2 separate regions of the Homo sapiens genome follow, and region 1 is linked to region 2. Evidence: promoter capture Hi-C in human tissues and cell types (Jung and others, 2019). All regions are on one chromosome and are shown on one strand. The core of a region is centred on a gene start or on the middle of the fragment in contact, and the rest is flanking DNA. Distances in the headings are between cores, read along the strand shown.

Evidence for each region. Contacts are between HindIII fragments. The study calls those that stand out against the background at their distance.
Region 1: a contact is called between the fragment with the promoter of PMM1 here and the fragment with the promoter of ST13 in region 2, in 1 of the 25 tissues and cell types used here (liver).

The regions. Positions count from the first base shown.
Region 1 is chr22:41,588,479-41,594,107 of GRCh38, forward strand. It overlaps PMM1 (phosphomannomutase 1), which reads right to left and starts at 1,362. Exons shown (of 8, transcript NM_002676.3): 1 at 1,241-1,362. The coding sequence starts at 1,327. RefSeq lists an enhancer at 487-1,166 and a silencer at 1,561-1,710. The HindIII fragment of the contact is 27,075 bases long and covers 1-5,629 here.
Region 2 is chr22:40,853,124-40,858,372 of GRCh38, forward strand. It overlaps ST13 (ST13 Hsp70 interacting protein), which reads right to left and starts at 3,516. Exons shown (of 12, transcript NM_003932.5): 1 at 3,308-3,516. The coding sequence starts at 3,417. XPNPEP3 (X-prolyl aminopeptidase 3) reads left to right here and starts at 4,025. Exons shown (of 10, transcript NM_022098.4): 1 at 4,025-4,122. The coding sequence starts at 4,059. RefSeq lists enhancers at 3,244-4,013, 3,641-3,860, 3,871-4,330. The HindIII fragment of the contact is 7,743 bases long and covers 1-5,035 here.

The sequences.
Region 1 (5,629 bases), core at 112-2,611, 730 kb after region 2:
AAAGTGCTGGGATTACAGGCGTGAGCCACTGAACCCAGCCTAATTTTTGTATTTTTAGTAGAGACGGGGTTTCACCATGTTAGCCAGACTGATCTAGAATTCCTGACCTCAGGTGATCTGCCCACCATGGCCTCCCAAAGTGCTGGGATTACAGGCGTGACCCACAAGCAAATGGCCCACCTTTGCTCCAGTCCTGCTATCTTCCTCCCGGATCCACCCCTGCAGGAAGGCCTCCAGGGCCCAAGCCAGGGCAACTTCACCACAGAGGATGGGGAGGGGCATTCGGGACCTAAGAGAGGAGGCTAAGACCTGGGTTCCCATCAGCCACTGCCCAGTAAAGCCCATCCCACTGCTCCCCCACGCTAGGAGACCTGTTGGTTGGTCCTTGAGGCCCCCAGACTGGAGGGTGGGTTACCCACAGGGAGGGCATGAATGAAGCCTGCTTACTGATGCATCCAGCTGGTGAGGGGGCTTTTGGGGACTCACTCACAATGAGACCCAATGGGAGAAAAACTGAGCAGAGGTAAGAGGCTCAACACAGCGAGAGTCTTTAGAAGAAAACTAGACTCTTACCCTCACTATTCCTCAGTGTCCTCACAGCAAACAGGCTAGGCCTGGAGCCTCTCACATCCGGGTGGGTAGAGCTCATAAACGAATTTGAAAAGAAGCCCTCTCTGCTCCACGACTGGGGGTGGAAGGTAAAGTGGGTGATGGGGCTTCAGAAACTAGACCCAGTCCCAGGCCTGCAAAGGTCGGGGTGGGAAGACTCCGAGACGCCCTGTCTCCCACCAGATGATGACTGACGCTTGGCTGTGTGCTTGTGTGCCTGGAACCCCGGTTCAGAAGCCAGCTCCGACCACTGGTGTGTCGTAGGGCTGAACTAGGGTGGGATCCCCAGCTCAGGAGGCGGGGGCGTCCGTGAGCCAGGCCTTAGCGGCGTGTGACAGCCTCCGGGGAGGGAGGGAGCTAGGCCCCTGCTCGCAGCCTCCTCCCTCCAGTACTGGATCCAACCCCAGCACTCCCAAGCAGAACACAGGCAAGGACGCTGCGGGGTCAGTGACGTGAGGGCCAGGTCCCCTCACTCCCGGTGGGTGGCCCCGGATGTCAGGGGGCCGGGTACCGCCGCATCCCACACTCGGTCCCCGGGTGTCCACGGTCACGCTGCTGCAGACCCCACACTCAGCCTCGGGGGTGTCCGCGTGACACTCCCGGTGGGAGCTTCCAATCTTCAGGGTCCTACCTGGCGAGCCGGCGTGAGGGTCCCGTCCACGTCAAACAGGCAGAGGACGCGCTCCTTCCTGCGGGCTGCCTGGGCGGTGACTGCCATGGCTGCAGGTCCGCGCGCGGGGCGGAGTCCCGAAGATGCAACGGCAGAAGCAGCTCAGGGATAAGTGCTGACGGGGCGGGGCATTAGGGGGCGGGGGCCAGTGGACTGCCTGATTGGCCAAATGAAGAAGGGGCGTGGTCTAGGCGGGCGGAAGCGGGGGCGGGGCCTGAGCTGATTCTCATTGCTCGTGGAGGAGGGGAGCGCGGCATAGGGCGGAGCGGAGCCCTCCAGGTTCGATTGGATTGCTCCAAACAAGGCGGAGGAGGGGCCTGAGCCTGGGACCCGCAGGAAGTGAGAGGGTGAACCCGGAAGACAGGGGCGGGGCCAGAATTGGCGGGTTGATAGTGATTGCAACAGGCCGATTAAGGGGCTGGGTCGGGCGGGGCCTCTACCATGCAGTGCAGTGTCTAGTGGGCCAGGCGGGACTAAGAGAGCCGAGGTCGCTCCCCATCCACTCTCACAAGGTTTGTGGCCATCTCTTTGCCTTACAAATTTTGAGCTGTAGGAAATCTCCTGAGCCGGGCGCGGTGGTTCACGCCTGTAATCCCAGCAGTTTGGGACGTCGAGGCGGGCGGATCACCGGAGGTCGGGAGTTCGAGACCAGCCTGACCAACATGGAGAAACCTCGTCTCTACTAAAAATACAAAATTAGCCAGGCGTGGTGGCGCATGCCTGTAATCTCAGCTACTCAGGAGGCTGAGGCAGGAGAATCGCTTGATTCCAAAGAAGCCAGAGGTTGCGGTGAGCCGAGATCGCGCCATTGCACTCCAGCCTCAAAAAAAAAAAAAAAAAAAAAAAAGGAAAGAAAAGAAAAGAAAAGAAATCTCCTGAAGGCCTTTGTTCAGGCTTTGGACTTTGCCAAATTGCCTTCCCCGAGCCTTATTCCTTCTGTCCACACATAAGACCCAGCTCTCAGGGTCTACCTGCTTGGAGACCTTCCCAGATTCTTCTTTTTTTTTTTTTTTTTTGAGACAGAGTCTCGCTCTGCCCAGGCTGGAGTGCAGTGGCGGGATCTCTGCCCACTGCAACCTCCACCTCCCAGGTTCAAGCGGTTCTCATGCCTCAGCCTCCCGAGTAGCTGGGACTGCAGGCGTGTGCCACCATGCCCACCTAATTTTTGTATTTTTACTTACTTTTATGTTTATTTTATTTTATTTTTGACACAGGGCGATTTATTTATTTATTTATTTATTTTTTGAGACTGGGTCTCACTCTGTTACTCAGGTTGGAGTGCAGTGGCATGATCTCGGCTCACTGCAACCTCCGCCTCCCAGGTTCAAGTGATTCTCCTGCCTCAGCCTCCTGAGTAGCTGAAACTACAGAAGTGCGCCACCACGCCCGGCTAATTTTTTTTTTTTTTCTGAGACGGAGTTTTGCTCTTGTTGCCCAGGCTGGAGTGCAATGGCACGATTTCAGCTCACCACAACCTCTGCCTCCCGAGTAGCTGGGATTATTTTGTACCCACTACCACGCTCGGCTAATTTTTTATTTTTAGTAGTAATTTTGTATTTTCACCATGTTAGCCAGGCTGGTCTCGAACTCCTGGCCTCAGGTGATCTGCCTGCCTCAGCCTCCCAAAGTGCTGGGAATACAGGCATGAGCCACCGTTCCCAGCCAACCTTCCCAGATTCGATTCACAATTATTTAACCATTGCGTTGACTTTGGAGTCACTTCCAGGTTGCCTTCCCAGCTCCACCACTATGGGACCTTGGACAAGTCACTTCACCTCTCAGAGGCTTTGTGTCTTCACCTATAAAATGGGATGAACACCACCTGCTTTGTAGGTTTGCTTTTCACATGAAAATAAGTAACAGGCTGGGCGCGGTGGCTCACGCCTGTAATCCCAACACTTTGGGAGGCCGGGATGGGCAGATCACCTGAGGTCATGAGTTTGAGACCAGCCTGGCCAACATGGGGAAAGTCCGTCTCTACTAAAAATACAAAAATTAGCCGGGCATGGTGGCAGGAGCCTGTAATCCCAGCTACTTGGGAGGCTGAGGCGGAAGAATCACTTGAACCTGGAAGGCGGTGGTTGCAGTGAGCCGAGATGATGCCACTGCGCTCCAGCCTGGGAGACAGAGGGAGACTACACCTCAAACAAACAAACTAACTAACTAACTAACTAACTAAATAAATAAAAAATAACTGTAGAGCTGGATGCGGTGGCTCACACCTGTAATTCCAGCACTTTGGGAGGCCAAGGTGGGTGGATTGTTTGAACCCAGGAGGTCAAGATCAGCCTGGGCAACATGGCAAAATGCTGTCTCTACTAAAAATACAAAACATTAGCCAGGCATGGTGGCAGGCACCTGTGGTCCCTCAGGAGGCTAAAGTAGGAGAATCACCAGGAAGCTGAGGCTGCAACGAACCAGATCTTCCCACTGCACTCCAGCCTGGGTAACAGTAGTGAGACCCTGTCTCAAGAAAAAAAAAAAAAAAGATGCAGATCATATGAGTCAGCAATTCAACTTTTAGAAAATAGGAAAAGAGGCTGAGCGCGGTAGCTCACGCCTGTAATCCCAGCACTTTGGGAGGCCAAGGCAGGCAGACCACAAGGTCAAGAGATCGAGACCATCCTGGCTAACGTGGTGAAACCCCGTCTCTACTAAAAATACAAAAAATTAGCCAGGCGTAGTGGCGGCACCTGTAGTCCCAGCGACTCGGGAGGCTGAGGCAGGAGAATCCCTTGAACCCGGGAGGCGGAGCTTGCAGTGAGCCGAGATCACACCACTGCACTCCAGCCTGGGCCATAGAGCGAGACTCTGACTCGGAAAAAAAAAAAAAAAGGCCAAGCGCGGTGGTTCACACCTGTAATCCAGCACTTTGGAAGGCTGAGGTGGGCGGATCACGAGGTCAGGAGATCGAGACCATCCTGGCTAACACGGTGAAACCCCATCTCTACTAACAATACAAAAAATTAGCTGGGCGTGGTGGCGGGTGCCTATAGTCCCAGTTACTTGGGAGGCTGAGGCAGGAGAATGGTGTGAACCTGGGAGGCGGAGCTTGCAGTGAACCGAGATCACGCCACTGCACTCCAGCCTGGGCAACAGAGCAGACTCCGTCTCAAAAAAAAAAGAAAGAAAAGAAAATAGAAAAAAGGAAAAATATATGGAATTGTTTAAATGAACTAAGACCCATCTAGAAGATGAAATGCTACGAAGCCATGAAAATCTGCATTGTGTTTGTGTGCGTGTGCACGTGTGTGTGTAGAATAGGGTCTCACTATTTTGTCCAGGCTGCTCTCAAACTCCTGGCCTCAAATGGTCCTCACGACTCAGCCTCCCAAAGTGTTGGGATTACAGGCGTGACCAAAGTGTTGGGATTACAGGCCTGACCCACCGCACCAGATCCCCAGGCACAATTCTTGTTTTTCTGACTGGGTAGCTATGGTGTCCTGGAGAGATCATTGGAGTTGGAATCAGGAGAACTGCAGTTTGGTCCTGGCTAACTACAAGGACTTGGACAGGTCACCTTTCCTCACTGGGCTTCAGTTTCTTTATATGTAATGAGGATATAAACCCCACGTGATAGAACTATGAAAGGTGATGAGAGGTGACAGCGTACTAGCAGCCCTCGCTCACTCTTGGTGCCTCCTCAGCCTCGGCGCCCATTCTGGCCGTGCTTGAGGAGCCCTTCAGCCCGCCGCTGCACTGTGGGAGCCCTTCTCTGGGCTGGCCGAGGCCGGCGCCGGCTCCCTCGGCTTGCGGGGAGGTGTGGAGGGAGAGGCACGGGCGGGAACCGGGGCTGCAAGCGGCGCTTGCGGGCCAGCTAGAGTTCTGGGTGGGCGTGGGCTTGGCGGGCCCCGCACTCAGAGCGGCAGGCCGTGCCGGCCCGAGCAGTGAAGGGCTTAGCAGCCGGGCCAGCAGCTGTGGAGGGTGCGCCGGGTCCCCCAGCAGTGCCGGCCCACCGGCGCTGCGCTCGATTTCTCACAGGGCCTTAGCTGCCTCCCCGCTGGGCAGGGATCGGACCTGCAGCCCGCCATGCCTGAGCCTACCCTCTGCCGTGGGCTCCTGCGCAGACAGAGCCTCCCCGGCGAGCGCCGCCCCCTGCTCCATGGCGCCCAGTCCCATCGACCACCCAAGGGTTGAGGAGTACGGGCGCACGGCGCGGGACTGGCAGGCAGCTCCACCTGCAGCCCCGGTACAAGATGCACTGGGTGAAGCCAACTGGGCTCCTGAGTCTGGTGGGGACTTGGAGAACCTTTATGTCTAGCTAAGGGATTGTAAATACACCAATCGGCACTCTGTATCTAGCTCAAGGTTTGTAAACACACCAATCAGCAGCCTGTCTAGCTCAGGGTT
Region 2 (5,249 bases), core at 2,266-4,765:
ACGTGACATGGCAACTAAATGCAACACATAAATCTGAGGATTAGATAGCATAAATGCATCAGCATTAGTTTCCTAAGTTTAGTATTTGCATTGTAAAGACTTTGTAGGAAGTACACACTCACTGGTGTTGGGGTATAATGTTGGCAGCTTACTCTCAACTAGTTCAGAAAAAATTCCTTTGTACCATACCTGCAATTTTTCTGAGCTAGAAATTGTTGCAAAAAAAATAAAAACTTTAAAAAAAAAAGAGGATTTACTCATAAGCTAGATTTAGTTTCTCCCATCCCAAATTCTAGTTAACTAATGGAAGAAAACACCAACTCATAGGTACGAAATTTCAATTAATGCTTCCAAGGCTTAGAACAAGCTACTTTCTGGCCAAAAACTGCCACTTAGACTTTGGCACTACAGGCTTTTTTATGTTACACAATCAAGTAGGACCAGTGTAGAGACTTTTCTCACATAGGACCACATAAAACTTCATTCACATTTCTCTTAATTTGATAACCTTCTAATCTGCTTTGTGCTATGGTTATTTGTACACATGTACAAAAAATTGGTTGCTACACTCTAAATTCTATATTGAGGGTAGAAATGCATTCTGTTCATTTCCTTTACAACATTTAGGAAAAGCCATGTGCCACGTACTGTACTAGGGAGTAGAAAACAAAGACACTCTCTTCGATCTTAATTACCATCAAGTAAAGCCATGAAACCACATACAAGATACTAAATTGTTAAACGGGAGAAAATAGAGTGGGAGAATGCTTCTGTCTCTAAAAAGGGAAAAACAAAAATATCTCAAAACACAGTTCTTGAAAAGAACAGTCTCCTGGATCCTCACTGACAACTAGTTCAGAAAGACTTTTAGTATTTCTCTTTGTGCAATTTAAAAGGTTAAACTAATAAATCCTTATATCAAATAAAACTAAGCTATAAACAATGCTAGCAATTATAGCAAATAGGCAGATGTACTGTTCTTCAACAGCTAAGCCTGTGAGAAACACATGTTTTCAACTTGAGTAACCCTAACAGTAGCATCAGGCCTAGGAAGACGTCTGGACCTAGAAGTCTCCACATTCAGCCCCATCTGCCACAATCTCGAACTGCAGACTGATGAAGGCAGAGAGAGAAACTGACACAAACGCAAAGGCCTCAGAGTTTATAAAAATCTTAGTTTAAATACAGAAATAAAGAGAAAAAGCTTCTATATTAAATATCTCAATTTAAGTTCAGAATAAAGTCCCTACATATGCCATGATGCTTCACCCCATACTTCAGCCAACTCAGGATGGCTAAAGAATGTAAGTGGAATCAGAAAGAAAAACTGGAATTACCTATGTTAAAATAAGGTATATGACTATTTCTTGTTTTTGTTTGGGAGATAGTAGTGCCTGACAAATATTTTGCAAACCTTAAAGTGGAATTCTCTACATAGGCACAATCACTCCAGCACAAGTCAGGAGGACACTGTTCTTACACATGCTTTTAATTTGTTCTTCTGTGTCTCCTCTTCCTCACTAGTAAGAATGAAACAAAAACATTGTATCCACTTAATGTAAAGTGGAGCCAGCTCTTGGAGCCGGCTATTTTCTTCCTGTGATACTTGTCTACGTTACCTGGAATTTTAGAAAGAATTTATTAACTGCAGGTTCTTTCCTATAATTAGGATAAAAGCATACAAATATCTTAAGGCTTTTGGATCATCAAGCTGTTCAATAGAGAAAACGACTAAAACCTAGCCCTCAATTCCTAATCCTGACATTTCCCGGTTGAGGAGTTTGCAAAATAGACTTCTTACCAATATTCATAAAGTTACTATTAACATAGTAATATTAAATGGTCTCAGAATTTCACATATAAGTAAGTCTTCCAGTAGTTAGACAATTGGTGGGGAGCTAAAAATTGAAAAACTTCTTAGAGGAAAAAAATACAACATACAACGCTGACAGATTGTAACGAGTTTTTTCCTTAGAACCAGATTGTTGTTAAGAAATATTCTTTGAGCTATTTGGTAATCATGAGCTCATCTTCCCACACAAAAATATCACGCTGGGTGAAGTGGCTCACGCCTGTAATACCACCACTTTGGGAGGCGGGGGAGTCCCTTGAGGCCAGGAGTTCAAGACAAGCCTGGGCAACTTAATGGGACCCCCATCTCTACAAAAAAATTAAATTAGCCAAGTATGGTGGCTCGATCCCGCACTGCTAGCCACCTGGGAGACTGATGCAGGAGGATCGCTTGTGCCCAGGAATTGGAGGCTGCAGTGATCCCGCCACTGTATGCGGCCTGGACAATACAGCCAAACCCTGTCTCTAAAAGACAAAAGTCACTAAACACATAACGTTCACAGCAGCACCTCTTAGGAGTCGCAATGGTCTGCATAGTTGCTATTTATCCCTGTTTAGTGCAATTTGTATGTCATCTTTTCAGTTCCCCATTAGTAATAATTTTTTAAAAAGTCATCTTAGGGAAGACTTCCCTGTCACTTTTTCTCTTCGGTGCTCCTTCAACACATAAAATGCTAATTACTATTATATAGTAAATATCAAAACGAACTTTTCTATTTATTCGTCTAAATAGACAGTACTTATACTGTTTCCTAGCACCAGGCACAATGCCTTGTCAATTAACTCCTTGCACGTAGCGAAGTACTCTACAGTTAAAGACAACAAGATTATATCCTGGAAACATGCCAGGCCTTAAGAAATTATTTTTCTCAGACGTGTTTGGAGTGATAACACTGCCAAGTAACGGAGGTATAATAAGTGATTCTCAAGATAATTAATCCTACGCAGCTACAAACGCTGTAAGGTAAAAACAATCATTTTTACAGTTATCATTTTTATTCTTACTAGTTTTGTAACTTTTAACTTACTAGTGTTATATTATTATAACACGACGTAAAGGAATAGTGCGTAAAGGAACTGCTATGTACCAATGAGACCTGAGCAGGGCACACAAGACTGAAAGAAAAACAACCCCACGCAAAATCTAAGTCTTGCAGTTTTCACTCCTCGCGTCTCCAGTGTCCACGCATCCGCAGTCCTGTTTTTGTATTTCGCCCAAGATACACCCCTGGGCAACCTCAGGGTGCGAGGAACCCAGCTCTGCCTCCTGCTCCCCGCGGCTCCTGTACTACCCAAGGCTCGCGATCTTCCATGACCCCTCGAAGTTGCCTCCCTTTCCCGGGCAAAGAAGGGGCAGCGACCCCGCCTCGCCCGCCGGACCGAGCCAGGTCCAGCCTGGCTCCCCCCTGGGGCCGTGCTTCCCCCGCCCCCAACGGTCCTCAGGCCTGGGTCTCACCTCTCCACCCACTCCCTCAGGAAGCGCATTTCCTCGGTGTGCAGAACGCTCGGATCCTGCTTACACATTTTCACAAAGGCCCGAAGCTCGTTCACTTTGCGGGGGTCCATGGTAGGGAGGTGGTGGGCGAAACTGGGGGGGCTACGGCCCGGTTCCAGGCCCAGGCGCTGGCTCGGCGTGACCGCGCAGAAGGGGGCGGCTGCCGCAAGACAGAACAGACTAGAACCTCCCCGGCCGCTGGCTCCTCCCACCCAACGGTCTCGTGACCTCGGGTCCTCCGCCTGCTCATTCCTACTCCCTCTGCGCTGCTCCTGCGCGCTCCCTAGAATCTTCTAGAAGCGTGGCTGTTCGTGCTGTTGCCTGCCTCCCTGCGCATACATTCTCATATTCTTAACTAGGAACCAGCTCCCTGGATGGGGCAACCCCAGAAATGGGCGACTTCAAGGAGGCGGGAGATAACATCCCCTCCAGGGGGCGACGTCCAAGAGCATATTGTGTGGCTGCGTGCACTGAGTAGAGCTCAACGCCCGGGACCTAAAAAAAAAAAAAAAAAAGGGCGTGGAGCCGGAGGGTCGGTCCCAGCTCGGGGCATGACGTCACAACCTGCGCCGCCGCGCAAGGAAGGCCCGCGAGCCGCCTCCGCCGGAAGGGGAGGTGCGGCTGGCCCGGTTTCCTGGCGACGCGGCCCTGCAGGCGGTTGCGTTCCCCGTCGTTACCCTCTTTCTCTTCCCGACGCGTGAGTTAGGCCGTAATGCCTTGGCTGCTCTCAGCCCCCAAGCTGGTTCCCGCTGTAGCAAACGTCCGCGGCCTCTCAGGTTAGACTCTTCTCCCACGGTCTCCTCCCATGGTGTCCCCTGGAGGGACCCAAGTTGGTCTCAGGCGATCCCTGGTTCGGCTGACCCTTCTCCTGGTGGGGCCTCCGCTCCCCAACCCTCTGTGCTCCGCGGATTTCTTCTATACCGGCTGCTCCTGGAAAGGGGTGGGCCCAGTGTGTTCTCTACCGTTGAGGTATTTTGTGAAGCCGAAATGACTGCAGAGAGAAAAGTGTGCCATCCCCCAGAGGGGCTGTCTTCCAAGTTACTCGGACTCCGAAGTTGTGGCAATTATCACACTTAAGTGACAAAGTGTCTCACATCAAGTAGCTCTTGTTTCTGTTAGGCGTGAGAGCTTGCTCCAGAATATACACGAAGCATGTTTAGTAACAAATTCTTTCAGCAGCTCCTCTTAGGAGAGGTAACTGTTTCGAAATACTTCTGGGGCGTTCTGTGTCTGAAAGTCCTGTTTGCAAAGACAAGACGAAGGATAAGGAGAATAATTTTTTGTAGGGTGTCCTCTATTGCGAGCAATTAATCTGATGAACATAAAGCTTAATCAGTGAAAACTGAATCACCTTCCTTGCAGGCGGATCTGCCATTGGATCGTATTTCAGTTTTTTGGGTCAATATATGAACAATGTGTGAACCAGAACGTATGGTATTTGACATCAAAGCTATGTCTTGGCATATGTTTATGTTGATATACTTGAATTCATTTAAAATGGAATGTTAATTACATCGACTTCTTACTATAAAAAATAAAAAGTTATTGTCCAGTGCACAGAACTTGTTCTTCAGTTCTCATAGTAAAGCTGCAGAAAGACAACTCTCCGTGGGATTAGGTGAAAAGAAAGATGTGCAATTTTTCAGTCTTTTTTTGAGACAGGCTCTCATTCTGTTGCTCAGACTGGAGTGCAGTGGCAATCTCTGCTCATTTGCAACCTCTGCCTCCTGAGTTCAAGCAATTCTCGTGCCTCAGCCTCCCGAGGTAGCTGGGATTATAGGCGTGTGCCACCACGCCTGGCTAATTTTTGTAATTGTAGTAGAAACCAGGTTTTGCCACGTTGGCCAAGCTGATCTCGAACTCCTGGCCTCAAGCGATCCACCCTCCTCTCTGAGCCACCGCC